Regions from separate parts of the Homo sapiens genome. Here region 1 is linked to region 2. The links are contacts of gene promoters, found by promoter capture Hi-C in blood cells and fetal thymus (Javierre and others, 2016). All regions are on one chromosome and are shown on one strand. The core of a region is centred on a gene start or on the middle of the fragment in contact, and the rest is flanking DNA. Distances in the headings are between cores, read along the strand shown. Region 1 holds the start of ADAMTS6 (ADAM metallopeptidase with thrombospondin type 1 motif 6). Region 2 holds the start of CETN3 (centrin 3).

The links. The method cuts DNA at HindIII sites, captures the fragments that hold promoters and counts their contacts. A CHiCAGO score of 5 or more calls a contact.
Region 1: the fragment with the promoter of ADAMTS6 here is called in contact with the fragment with the promoter of CETN3 in region 2 in 1 of 17 cell types (total CD8 T cells); the score reaches 5.3 in total CD8 T cells.

The regions. Positions count from the first base shown.
Region 1 is chr5:65,479,646-65,485,627 of GRCh38, reverse strand. It overlaps ADAMTS6 (ADAM metallopeptidase with thrombospondin type 1 motif 6), which reads left to right and starts at 3,708. Exons shown (of 25, transcript NM_197941.4): 1 at 3,708-4,285. LOC124900986 reads left to right here. Exons shown (of 2, transcript XM_047417970.1): 2 at 1-1,287. RefSeq lists enhancers at 1-457, 3,506-3,555, 3,329-3,828, 3,596-3,955. The HindIII fragment of the contact is 619 bases long and covers 3,281-3,899 here.
Region 2 is chr5:90,407,319-90,413,637 of GRCh38, reverse strand. It overlaps CETN3 (centrin 3), which reads left to right and starts at 3,882. Exons shown (of 5, transcript NM_004365.4): 1 at 3,882-3,993; 2 at 5,804-5,939. The coding sequence starts at 3,977. LOC731157 (a long non-coding RNA gene) reads right to left here and starts at 3,638. Exons shown (of 2, transcript NR_105024.1): 1 at 3,334-3,638; 2 at 2,969-3,138. RefSeq lists an enhancer at 3,913-4,112. The HindIII fragment of the contact is 6,726 bases long and covers 3,792-6,319 here.

The DNA of each region.
Region 1 (5,982 bases), core at 2,459-4,958, about 25 Mb after region 2:
CCTTCCCGCAGGGCAGGGCTGGGGCCTGCAGCCTGCCACGCCTGAGCCTCCCCCCCGGCCTCCGTGGGCTCCTGTGCTGCCTGAGCCTCCCCGACGAGCACTGCCCGCTGCTCCAGGGCGCCCAGTCAACCACCCAAGGGCCGAGGAGTGCGGGCACAAGGGGCGAGACTGGCAGGCAGCTCCACCTGCAGCCCCGGTGCGGGATCCACTGGGTGAAGCCAGCTGGGCTCCTGGGTCTGGTGGGGACTTGGAGAACCTTTTTGTCTAGCTAAGGGATTGTAAATACACCAATGGGCACTCTGTATCTAGCTCAAGGTTTGTAAACACACCAATCAGCACCCTGTGTCTAGCTCAGGGTTTGTGAATGCACCAATAGACACTCTGTATCTAGCTACTCTGGTGGGGCCTTGGAGAACCTTTATGTGGACACTCTGTATCTAGCTAATCTGGTGGGGAGGTGGAGAACCTTTGTGTCTAGCTCAGGGATTGTAAACGCACCAATCAGCACCCTGTCAAAACAGACCACTGGGCTCTACCAATCAGCAGGATGTGGGTGGGGCCAGATAAGAGAATAAAAGCAGGCTGCCTGGGCCAGCAGTGGCAACCTGCTCGGGTCCCGTTCCACACCGTGGAAGCTTTGTTCTTTCGCTCTTTGCAGTAAATCTTGCTGCTGCTCACTGTTTGGGTCCACACTGCATTTATGAGCTGTAACACTCACAGCGAAGGTCTGCAGCTTCACTCCTGAGCCAGCGAGACCACGAACCCACCAGAAGGCCGAACACATCTGAACATCAGAAGGAACAAACTCCGGACACGCTGCCTTTAAGAACTGTAACACTCACCTGAGAGTCCGCAGCTTCATTCTGGAAGTCAGTGAGACCAAGAACCCACCAAATTCCGGACACAGGAGGATCACTTGAGGCTGAGTTCGTGACCAGCCTGGGCAACAGGGAGACCCTATCTCTACAAAAATAAAAACTTAGCTGGGGATGGTGGTTCATGCCTGTAGTTCCAGCTAAAATATATGTATTTTTTATTAGTCAATTTAAATAAGTAAATAGATAATAAAAATTTTAAAAAGAGACAAGAGAATGGCGGTTACATGGGCCAGTTGACTTGTGAAAATTCATTAGACTGGACACTTGTCATCAAACTATGTAATTATACATTTTTCTGCATGAATATTTTCAATTAAAAGTTTATTAAGAAAAGATGGAGCCATTGCAATGTATGGATCTTGATTCTAATAAAAAGGCATTTTTTAAAGCCCTTTTTGCAATTGGGAAATCTGAGTACAATATTTGATGACATGAGTTATTAATGTTTTAAGAATAATAGTGGTGTATATTTTTTTAGTACTTTTAGAAATACAGGGAAATAATGAAACGATATCTGATGAAATGATAGATGAAACAAAGTTGGTCACACTTGGACACTTGAAACTGGATGATGGCTACATGAGTGTTCATTATACTGTTTTTTTTTTTACTTTTGTATATGTTTGAAATTTTCTGCAATGCAGTTAAAACATTTACACAAACACATATATATACACATATATAAAGTTAAATTGACAGTTCGCCATTTCCCACCCTAATCAATTTTCACCAATTATTCACAGTATTCTTGACCCAATCAACTTGGAGACAGAATCTGTTGGAAAAATTTCATTACTCTGTTTAGACACAGGATGGCACTCTTTGAATAAGTAATTAGCCAAAGTCCACTCCCACTAAGTAAGCTCCTCTACAAGCTGCTACTTTGTAGGGCAGTTTATCTTAGTTGAGGGTAAAATCTTTTCAGAGCTTATATAGATGTTTACTGCTCATACCTTTATTTTTTGTGTGTGTGCTGGCTGTCCCTATTTACTGCCAGTACTTGAAAAATTAAGGAAGGTTAAGGTTCAACACTATTTAAATAGTCATTTGATGCCTACTTTTCTTATTTTTGGTGTTTACAATTATTGCTATATTTTGCTACCTCATGTATTTCACATATATGTACACACATATATATACACATACAAATACGCACACATACATACATACATATGAATCATCTTTATTTAAAACTCAATGCCCACTATTGAACAGATTTCTACATTTTAAATGGCTTTTAGCCAGATACTACTGATTAAGGTCAGGATGAGGACTATTTACTCTGTGGACAGATGCTTTCCACTTTCAACCCTTGAAGAAGAATTGAAATAACTGTATTCTTGGACGTTCTCAGTCTGATTCATGCCTCCTTTTAGCCAACTATTCATAGATTCACCAGAAGAATTACACCTACTACCTCCGGCGTAGGAAGAAAAAAAAAAATCAAATGGGCAATAATGTTAGCAGAAGCTTGATATTTAAGAGCTGGTATTCAGAAAGATCATCCTTCCTACCCCCTTCCCTCCGGTCCAGTTCTCCTTTCTGGTTCTCACCATCGGAAATTGACTTGGCATTAACTAAGGGCTGGAATTTCAAGGCGTCAATTTTCCCCTGCCCCCAACCTCGGAAACTCTTAAACAGCTCCCTATTCTACACTCAATGGTAGAGACAGATAAATGATGCAGCAGATTACACCGTTGAAAGGCAACATTTGTCCTGAGCTATTTTCACATTTTTTCCTGTTTCCGATGTATGTGCCAGACTTTGTTTGCTTGCTTAGGACATGGAAAACACTGGGCATTTTCTCCCCAGCGGCTTTCATTCTCAGCAAATGAAAGTGAAAGTGCTACATTGTAGCGGTATTTTATCCTTAAAGTCTGGACTGGCAGCTTGTGTGTAGGGGGGAGGGAGGGTGGGATTGGGAAGGTTGAAGAACCAGTTTTGAGGTTTTGTTTGTTTATCTTGAGATCGCAGCAGGGTTCCTGTTTTTTTCCCTTCCTTTTTTTTTTTGGTGGTGGGGTCCTACTTCGGATTTATTTTCATTTGGGCAGTCATTGAAGTTTCATTCAATGGACTGACTTAAAAAAATACACTCCACTTGTGGCTTTTCCCGGTTGCACTTTAAAACACCATCCAGTCTCACCCTCATCTGGAAATAATGCAAGCTTCTCTCTTCCTTCCCCCGCTCCCTCCTCCCCTACTTTTTTTTTTTCTTCTTCTTCTTCTTTTAAAGCTCCACATAACCTGAAGTCGATAATCAAATGGAAAATGTGCTGGTATTAGTTTACTTTAGTTTACTTTCCCTTTTGGTGCTAACCTTACTTGCTGAAGTATGTATAAAACACAGGCATTTTGTACACTTGTAGCTACTGAGTCTTGTGCCTGCTGCACGAATCTAAGCTTTAAGTTTCCTCAGAGGCACTGTTTGCGTGCAAGTTTTAACATTTTGATTGTGTGGATTTTAAAAATAAAATTACACGGAGAATGACACCAGAGATCTTAACAGTGACATTAGTCCATCTAAAGTCATTCATCCTTCTCCCTCCCCCTTCATTTTTCCAAGAAACAACTAATAGCAAACCAGGCTAGAATTTCTAAGAGAGTTTAGAGGAGGAGGAGGAAAAGAGGCGGAATGAGATAGGACAGAGAGGTTAGAGAGGCCAGAATTTCTCTCATTCACAGTGTGGAAAAGTTGACATTGTCTAAGCCCTTCTGAATGGCTGGTAGTTGGTTACCCCGATTGTACCTCTACCTCCCCTCCCCCTCCACGTGACGACCCAGGACACATGCGCACCCGACGCAGCCCAGGCACATCTGCAGACTGACGTCAGTGTGCTCTGCCTCCGAGGAAAAGCTGCCAAAATTTTCTCCTGCTGCAATTCAAGTTGGCTGGGGGCCGGTAGTGAGATCTAGGGCTACTTCAACAAAACTTTGCTGCCCTTCCTGCTCCTCTTGTCTTCTTTTCTCCTGATACCTTTTGATGCTCTGCACATGTTATTTGCATAGCAAAGGCACTAAGCTTTCCAGGAAGAGAGGGCACCACTTCCACCCCCAATAAGTCTTTTTTCCCGTCTTTTCTTTCTTTTCCTTTCCTTTTTTGGGGGGTGGGGAGGGAGAGAAAGGGGGTTTGCAAAGGCAGCATCTCAGAGTGATAGCCTAGATGTATTGAAGGCATCTCTTATTCTGCCAAATCGGAAAGTCAGTTCTCTAAAGCCCGGGTTAGCCAGACCATAGGGTTTTATTCTGGCTGCAGAATAACTGGCTGGTGTGGCTTTGCAAAGGGGGGCAAAAAATAAAAAAATAAAAAAAATTAAAAAAAGTTAGAGAGGAGAGGGAGTACGTGAGTCGTCCAGTGCAATCTCTATTGTCTGAAACTTACTTTTTATCAGAATTTGAAGATGAAAACGGTAAGGAAGACTTAACAATATTCAATGGAGCTTTTTTTTTTTAAACCAACAACTTGTGCTTTGCTTGTCTTCCGAATAACGCTTAGAAAACTTTTTTTCTGTGTGTGTGTTTTTTTTTTTTTTTTTAATGGCAATGAGTGAGCTTGACTGAACTCATTTTACAAATAGATATCTTTTTAACTCCAGACTTGTCGGGGGTTGTAGAATTCTGGGACTTGCAGTTATTTTATGATGCAAAAAAAATACGTTTATTTTATGAATATACAATACATGTTTTGTGAAGTGGACTTGATTATGATTATTGTAATCTTTTAACTGATCACCAAATAGTAATCCGGAAGGTAATAATGATGTGTGTGTTTTAAATTGATTTCCAGTTTTCTTACAGAAAAGTCTTATGCATTTTGTAGTTTCATGTCAGTGTCGTTAAGTCTTCAGACAAGTGCATATTTTATGCCTGGGCTCAGAGGGTAGCATTAATGTGCTAGCTGTAGCCCCGATGCTCTAGGACATGTTAAGCTCTTAATAGGCTAATCAAAGAGATGGAAACGTGTGTTTTTGATTTACTTTTGGCCACTTGGGACGTGCTAGACTCATAACCCTCCGGAGCCTTGTTTATCGGGGTAGGTCTGTATATATGGTGTATGGGACCAAAGTTCAGGGATTGAGGAGGGAGAGTGAGAGTGCAGGAATGGGGTATTGGGAAGCCTCTTTCTGATAATATGTGCTACAATTCCTGTCTTTGATGCTTTCTTTCCCTGTACTAGAGGAAAAGTGAGCGAGAGATTGAGAAAGCGCACTGAGAGGGAACAAGAGAGTGAGTTTCTTACTCTTGTTTTTATTTGAGCTGCCGGTGCAACGCGTTTGGGCCAGATGCCAACTGTCTGGGTCACACGCGTTTTATCCAAATAGATTTAGCGCTGCTGTCTGGAAATGGGCTGCTGAATGTTAACTTTAGGATCAACTCAACCAGGGCAGCTCAGACTGTTACCCTCTGTCTGGGCGAAGTGGAATGGTGGGGGCGGGGGGAGGTGAGGGTGTGCAGAGCAGAGAGAAAAAGGGAAACTGAACCATTGCTTGGAACTTTAAAAGAGACACTTGAGTGTGATTTTCAACATGTTCTTTTTATGTTCAAGTGTCGTGGACTAATTTTCTGTTCTTTTTTCTTTCTTTTTAGTTTCTGTTGATTAGACTGAAATGTTTAGATGTGGGGATGACAGTTTTCAGAATTCATGACAGGAAAAGAAACGTAACACAAAATTGGTGTAGTTGAAAGAAATTAAGAAAATTAATTTTGGAGATAATTGTTTTCTTGTGTTGCAGCAAAGTGGTAACTGCAGTCTGGTTTATGTTAATTCTGTGCTTAAATGTGATCGTTAGTGTTTTGAATTTTTGAAGAATAGCATTTAGAGGCAAATACGTTGATTTCAAACAAATCAAATTCATTCATTTGCCACAGCTGCAAATGAAGTCTGTGTAGTGGTCTTAATATTTTTGTGATTCCCAAGAAGAAAAACTTCTAGCCTGAAGACTGAAAATACTGTAATACTCCTTATGTCTGGTCCCAATACCTGTAAGATTAATTCCTACTCTTGTCTACTCTTAGCACTTCCTCTTTCTTTCCTTAGTAATCACTAGTAGTAGTAACTAGGATGGGTCTTTATGCCAAATTTTATCAAGTTTGTGACTTTAGTGAG
Region 2 (6,319 bases), core at 2,633-5,132:
ATTATTATTAATTTCTTATTATTTTATTTTGGTTCCTTAGCTGACTCAGAGTCTTCCTGAAATGGTTTTTAGTTTTATCTTTCATGCTGTTGATTTTCATATCTCTGATGGTTTTTCATTCTTCATTCATTTTAAAGACTCAGGCCACGTGCCGTAGCTCACGTTTGTAATCCCAGCACTTCAGGAGGCCAAGGCGCAAGGTGGGAGGTTGCTTGAGCCCAGGAGGTTGAGGTTGCAGTGAGCTATGATCTAAGGCCATGTCATTGCCCTCCAGCCTGGGCAACAGAGAGAACCCCCGTCTCTAAAAAAAGGAAAAAAAAAAGAGTGGAGTTCTAGATAGATGTAAAGAGACAAAACACTGGGGAGAGGAATCTGGAGGAACTGAAGTACAGTGGTTTCCTAAAGAGGTTTTAAATTGACATTTTGTTTTTAGCCCCCTTCTCATTTCCACCTTCTACTGTACAAGGGAACTCTATTCCTGGAGTCTCTCTGGGACTTTGCTAGGTAGATCAACTCTCTGTGAAACATAAGTCATCTCTGGAAAATTATAGGATGCCACTTCAGTGATCTGTTTCATTTGTCAACAAGTTTCCATATTTCTTTTGATCTTTCCAATAATTTTTTAAATACCTAGTCTGCTGATGGTCCCTCTCCAGGTCACTTCAGCTTTAGAAATTAATTTATTGGCTAGGCATGGGAGCTAATTCCTGTAATCTCAACACTCTGGGAGCCTGAGGCTGGAGGGTCACTTGAGACCAGGAGTTCTAGACCAGCCTGGGCAACACAGCAACACAGTGTAAAATTTAAAAAAAATTAGCTGAGCATGGTGGCATGCTTCTGTAGTCCTAACTTTTCAGGAGCTGAGGCGGGAGGATCCTTTGAGCCCAGGAGTTTGAGGTTACAGTGAGTTATGCCACTGCACTCCAGCGTGGGTGATAGAGGAACTCTTGATTTATTAAGGCTTTAGGAGGCAGACTAAACAAATATTTATGTCACTACCTTTTCAAAGCAGACATTTTTATTTACATTTGGCTGTCTCTGGAATTTCTGGTCTGATTACCATTGTACCAAATACATTTTAGTGTCCCATACAGCAATTTTTGTATTATTATTCTTTTTCACAGTTTAGTAAGTTATTTTTATAGAATTGTTGTTGAGATGGTCTTTGGAATACCTTTGTTCAATTCAAGAAAAATATGAGAATTTTGATTGCATCAAATTTAGGTTTAAAATATAATTAGTGTAACCACCTGTCTTATCTTTAGTAATAGATGATTAGACCCCAAGTTTCAGCAGAGCAGTTTTCCATCTAGAGATTTCTTGCCTCAACCTCCCGTGAAGCAAGAAGTGGTTGTCACTAGTTCTCACTAATTAAATATAATAAAAGTGATGCGTGTAAATTCCCTGTCACTCTCTTAAAAGGACACCCTATTGAAAACCTTTTAAAATCTGTTTGCCCAAATTATTTGCTTATAAAACGCACTCTGAGACCAAAAGCATCTCACAAAATCCTAGTGTTTCAGGAATGAGGTTTGAGAAACACTGGTGTTTAAGTATTCTGCCGATCATATTTAAAAAAGTATTTTCTAAACCCACTTTATATCCTAATAGAAAAGGTGTTACCTATTATTCAGTGCCTTTTTGACACTGAGATGATTTCCTTAACCTAACATTATAATTATTTAACACAGATTTATATTTTGAATTATCTTTGCACTTAACAAAAAAAAACTCAATTTAGTTATAGAGAAATGTTCCTTTAAGACAGTATCAAACTGACTTTGCTAACATCTAGGAATTTTGCACTTAAGTTCACAAATGAACATCAAACATGAGTCAGGCACTGGGGATACAATGGTGAGAAACATGCATAGCCTTCATCATCACTGAGCTTACACTGAGTGACTTTAAATGTTCTTTTAGGATGTGAAAGATTATGGCAGCTTCAAAAATTAAGCTAAGAAGCTCTCCATCATTTTCTATGACTTGAGTTTAAAGCACAAGATTTAGCTCTTATGATTTTTAATCATAAATCTGAGTGGGCTGGAGGCTTTTTATTTGTGAGTACAGAACTTTGGCATCTTTGTTCCAGTCCTGTCTGTAGTTATTGACTTAATTCAGTTTTCCACCTTTTTTGAGTTATGTTTTCCTTGAAAAGTGACTATTTCATTTTCTATTAATATTTATTGGCGGTATAAAATTGTATAAAATATTTTAATAATTTTTAAACCTCCCTTTTATTAAATTACCAACCTTACTAGTGGCACTATTCCTTTTCTTGTTACACTTCCTATAAGTCTTTGAATTTCACTGGTATTGCCAAAAACCAGCTTTATACTAGATTATGAGTACTTTATCAATTTTACCAATTTCCTTTTAAAACACTGTTCTCAAACTTTATCTTTACTAATTTCCTCTTCCTAATTTCAATTATACAATTTGTTCTTCGTTTCTAACATCTTCAAATAAATGCTTGGCCTATTTTTATTCTTTCTTATTTAAAATAATGTTCTCCTATAACTTGGTCTGTATCTTAAAATTTTAACATATAGTTTTTTTCAATATCATTATGTTCTAGTAACTACAATTTCTCTTTCCTTTTAGACTCAAAGGTGATTTATAAAGGTACTTTAAAATTTAAAATACGAACAAAATAAAAGTTCCACTTTTGTTTTTTAGGGGTGCTATCCCTTAGCTAATTTTTAGCTTATTCTATCATACTATCTTTCCTTGTGCAAATTTAGCCCATCCTTCTAGGTCTAACGTTTATGTCACCTCCTTTAAGAAGCATATCTTGTGTTCTCTCCCTTCTCTAAAATTTTATATACATCCCTTAAACATATAATGTTTATATATTCTCCGCCTTCAACTCCCATCCTCAGGCTATTTTATTCACGTTTATGAGATTTGCTGTTTAGCTCAGTATTTTGTGGATTTTCAAAAGATTCCACTCAATTTACCGAGCACCTACGCACCAGACATTTTATTAGGTACAAGGAAAAGCGTTAAATAGATATAATCACGGCCTCCAAGAAATTGAACCTAGTAAGAGACACGAATAAGCAGACATTCAAGTGAGCTTTAGGAGACTTGGTTTGGTAGTGAAGACAGTCTCATGTGTGTTAACAGCTTACAGCACTGAAAAATAAGAGACAGAAGGGAACAAATCCGTTTCAAACAGTTCAAAGGAGGAAAGAGAGGGAAAGGTGGTTTAGATACAGCTAAATCATAAATAGCCTGATAATCTAACCCTGTGATAATCCAAGTACAGCCACAGCACCTGCCTCAGAATCACTTGGAAGGCTTGTGAGGAGTAAAAACGCAGATTCATACCTACTGAAATTAGAATGGAGAAACGGACATTTAAGTCTGCATTTTAAACACATTCCCCAGGTACTGAGGCCATTCCAAGTTTTAGAACAGAGCACAGCCAATTTTCGCAGACCTTGTTCCTCAAGTACTCCCTCCTTCTAGCCGGAGGGTGGCCTGCAGCATGTCCCTTCCCTTCCCACCGCCGAAGCTGTCCATCCAGTTTCTGAATGGCGGCCCACAGACCGCACGGCTTTACGAGAGAGGAACACAGCGCCCACCCGCCAAACAGCCACACAGGGATCGGAGGCCGGACCCGCAAAGGATTCGGGGAAAAACGCATCGAGCCAATCCGAAGGGCGAGAGCGGCCCTAGATTGGGGGGGCGGGGGGGCGTTAGGAGGTGGGCGGGGCACAGAAAAAAAATTTTTTTTTCCTTGATTGACGTAAAACCTACCCAATGAAAATAGAACTGGTAAAGCTTCCGCCCCCTAATAGGCAGAACCATAGCGACATTTCAACCAATCCAGCTCAAAAGTGTCTATGTTGTGGGAGGTCCCTGAGGCCGCTGAGGTCGTTCGTGTCTGTTGAACGGCTGTGGGCGTCTTGCTGCCTTGGGTAGGGGGTTAAAATCGTTCTTGAGAGGAACGTCTCTGTGCGAAGAGATAATGAGTTTAGCTCTGAGGTCGGTAATAAGGAGGCGGCAGTGCTCTCCACACCCCGGAGCGGGGCCCAGGGAGGGTGTGTGTGGAAGGGAGGACGTTTGGGGCCGAGGCGAGGCAGGGGATGTAGTTTGGGACGCGGGAAAGGAGCCTAGGGCAGCCTGCCCGGATCACTCACCCTCTGGGCTCTGATGCCCTGCAGGGAACGAGACCAGTGCATTTCTGCTAAGGAGGTTATTTCTGTCAGCGCGTAGGGCTTTGGACTGCCAGAAGGTTGGGCTTAGTTGCGAGCGAGGTGGGAATGAAATATCGCGAGGCTTCTACTCTTGTTTCTCAGATCAGGTCGCGGACATCCCTTCATTCATCCGTGTGCCTGGTCAGGGCCCCACCTCGGCTGCTCCGCTGCTAATGCAATCACCCACCTATAAATTTTGGAAATAACAAAAACTCTTTCCTCTTCTCCCAGGGCCCTGCTTTACGGTGTAATTGGAGACCCATTTTAGTGACTTTAATTGGCAGTCTGTCTCTTGGATTTCCTAAATTTCTTGCATTTTTTTACCTTTCAGTTCTAACCTCTAACCCTCTGTTGCCCTCTCCCACTATGTAGACGTTGTACCGTAAAACTATCCATACACTTACGACACTCCGAAAATATTCCATGTTCTGCTAAGGGATAATCATGGTACCCTTGGATGGGGTCAGGGGTGGGTCGGTTCTGGACTTGGCCTCCAAAAGTCTCAGGAAGGAAAAGACTGACCCCAGGAATACCCAAGTTTGTGTCAAGTCAGGTCTCATGAAAGGAAGATCTTCCTCAGCTTTGTTATACTGCACCTACTAGTCACTTCCTAGCTTTTTTTTTTTTTTTTTGGAGCTTTCAGAGACCAAAACGACTTTCAAATGCAACTAGATAGGTGTTTTAAGTACAGTCAACTGGTTTGACATGTTAATGTGTTACCGGATTGTGTTTCAAAACTCGTTATTCCAGTGTTGCGGCTCCATTTGAAAATTTGGAGCACATTTAGATGGGCAGCTCTTAAGGAAAACATTTCTGGCTTTAAAATAATTTTTGCTTTTTTTCTTTAAGCGTTTCCAGAGTTTATGAGAAGTTAACCTCCGGTTTACATGTTAAATGAGACAAGACTCATCACATTTTTATATAGAATGAAGCACAAACATTGTATATTGGCATCTAATATTTGTCATATGTTTAGACTCATTAATATTTTCGATGGTTTGTTAATATCAATGGAGGAAATGACACATAAATTGCCAAACTGTTAAAAACGTGTAATCTAAAAACATTTTGAACCAACAGTGCTAAAATACTGTATAAGTTAATTCACTTTTTTTTTGTAATTTTATGAACATAATTATCAGAACTATCAACAGTAAACCGATATATAGTGATTGTCAGTTATGAATTTTGGTTTCATTTGGAGATTTTTTTTAAATTCTTTAACATTCTTGTAGGATAACGTGTTTTTGTTTTTTTGGTTGGAGTTGGTTGGAGTTTCAGACATAAAAGTAGTGTTGCTTATTCACAGTTCTTGTTTCTTCCACAGTAACATTAGTGGGAATAAATAAAAAGCTGGGAAAAAGAAAAGTTTGGTCCTCATTTCTTTTAATAATCTGTAACACTCTTTAGTTTTGCGAAGTTCAGATTTATAGCAATTTAGACTATGGAATAAACAGGTCATTGACTCATAAAGGGAAAGTTTCCCTATCTTTCTCCAAAGTACTTTCTTTTTTGAAATTTAGAAGGTAATTATTGGCTAATTTCTGTTAGTAAAGAGAATTAAAGTGGACTAAGGGCTTTTTCTTTCCATTTCATAGAAGTGAGCTTGTAGTGGACAAAACAAAGAGGAAAAAAAGAAGAGAACTGTCTGAGGAACAGAAACAAGAAATTAAAGATGCTTTTGAACTATTTGATACAGACAAAGATGAAGCAATAGATTATCATGAATTAAAGGTAATGGTATACTTTAAAATATTTGTTTCTGTGTTAAAATGATTTGCATTTTTACAGTTGCTTTACATTACATTTCTAAATAATTATTTTAACTAAATTGGTTTTGGAACTATGAAGGCATTTTAAGCATTCATAGTTAGATGCTGTAATAAAACTGAAGAGAACTCCTAACATAGTTTTTAGAAAATCTTTTTCACATGAGAAAACGAATAGTATTTTAAATGTAAAAATACATTCCCAGGGAAGGTGCTTATTTTTCACTGTCATAATTAAAGGATTTCAAACTGGAATTTATTCTTACCATCTTCTTTTCACTGTTTTTTGTTTTTGTTTTTGTTTCTTGGTGACTCATACTGTTTTCAGACTGTGGGAGTGTTGTC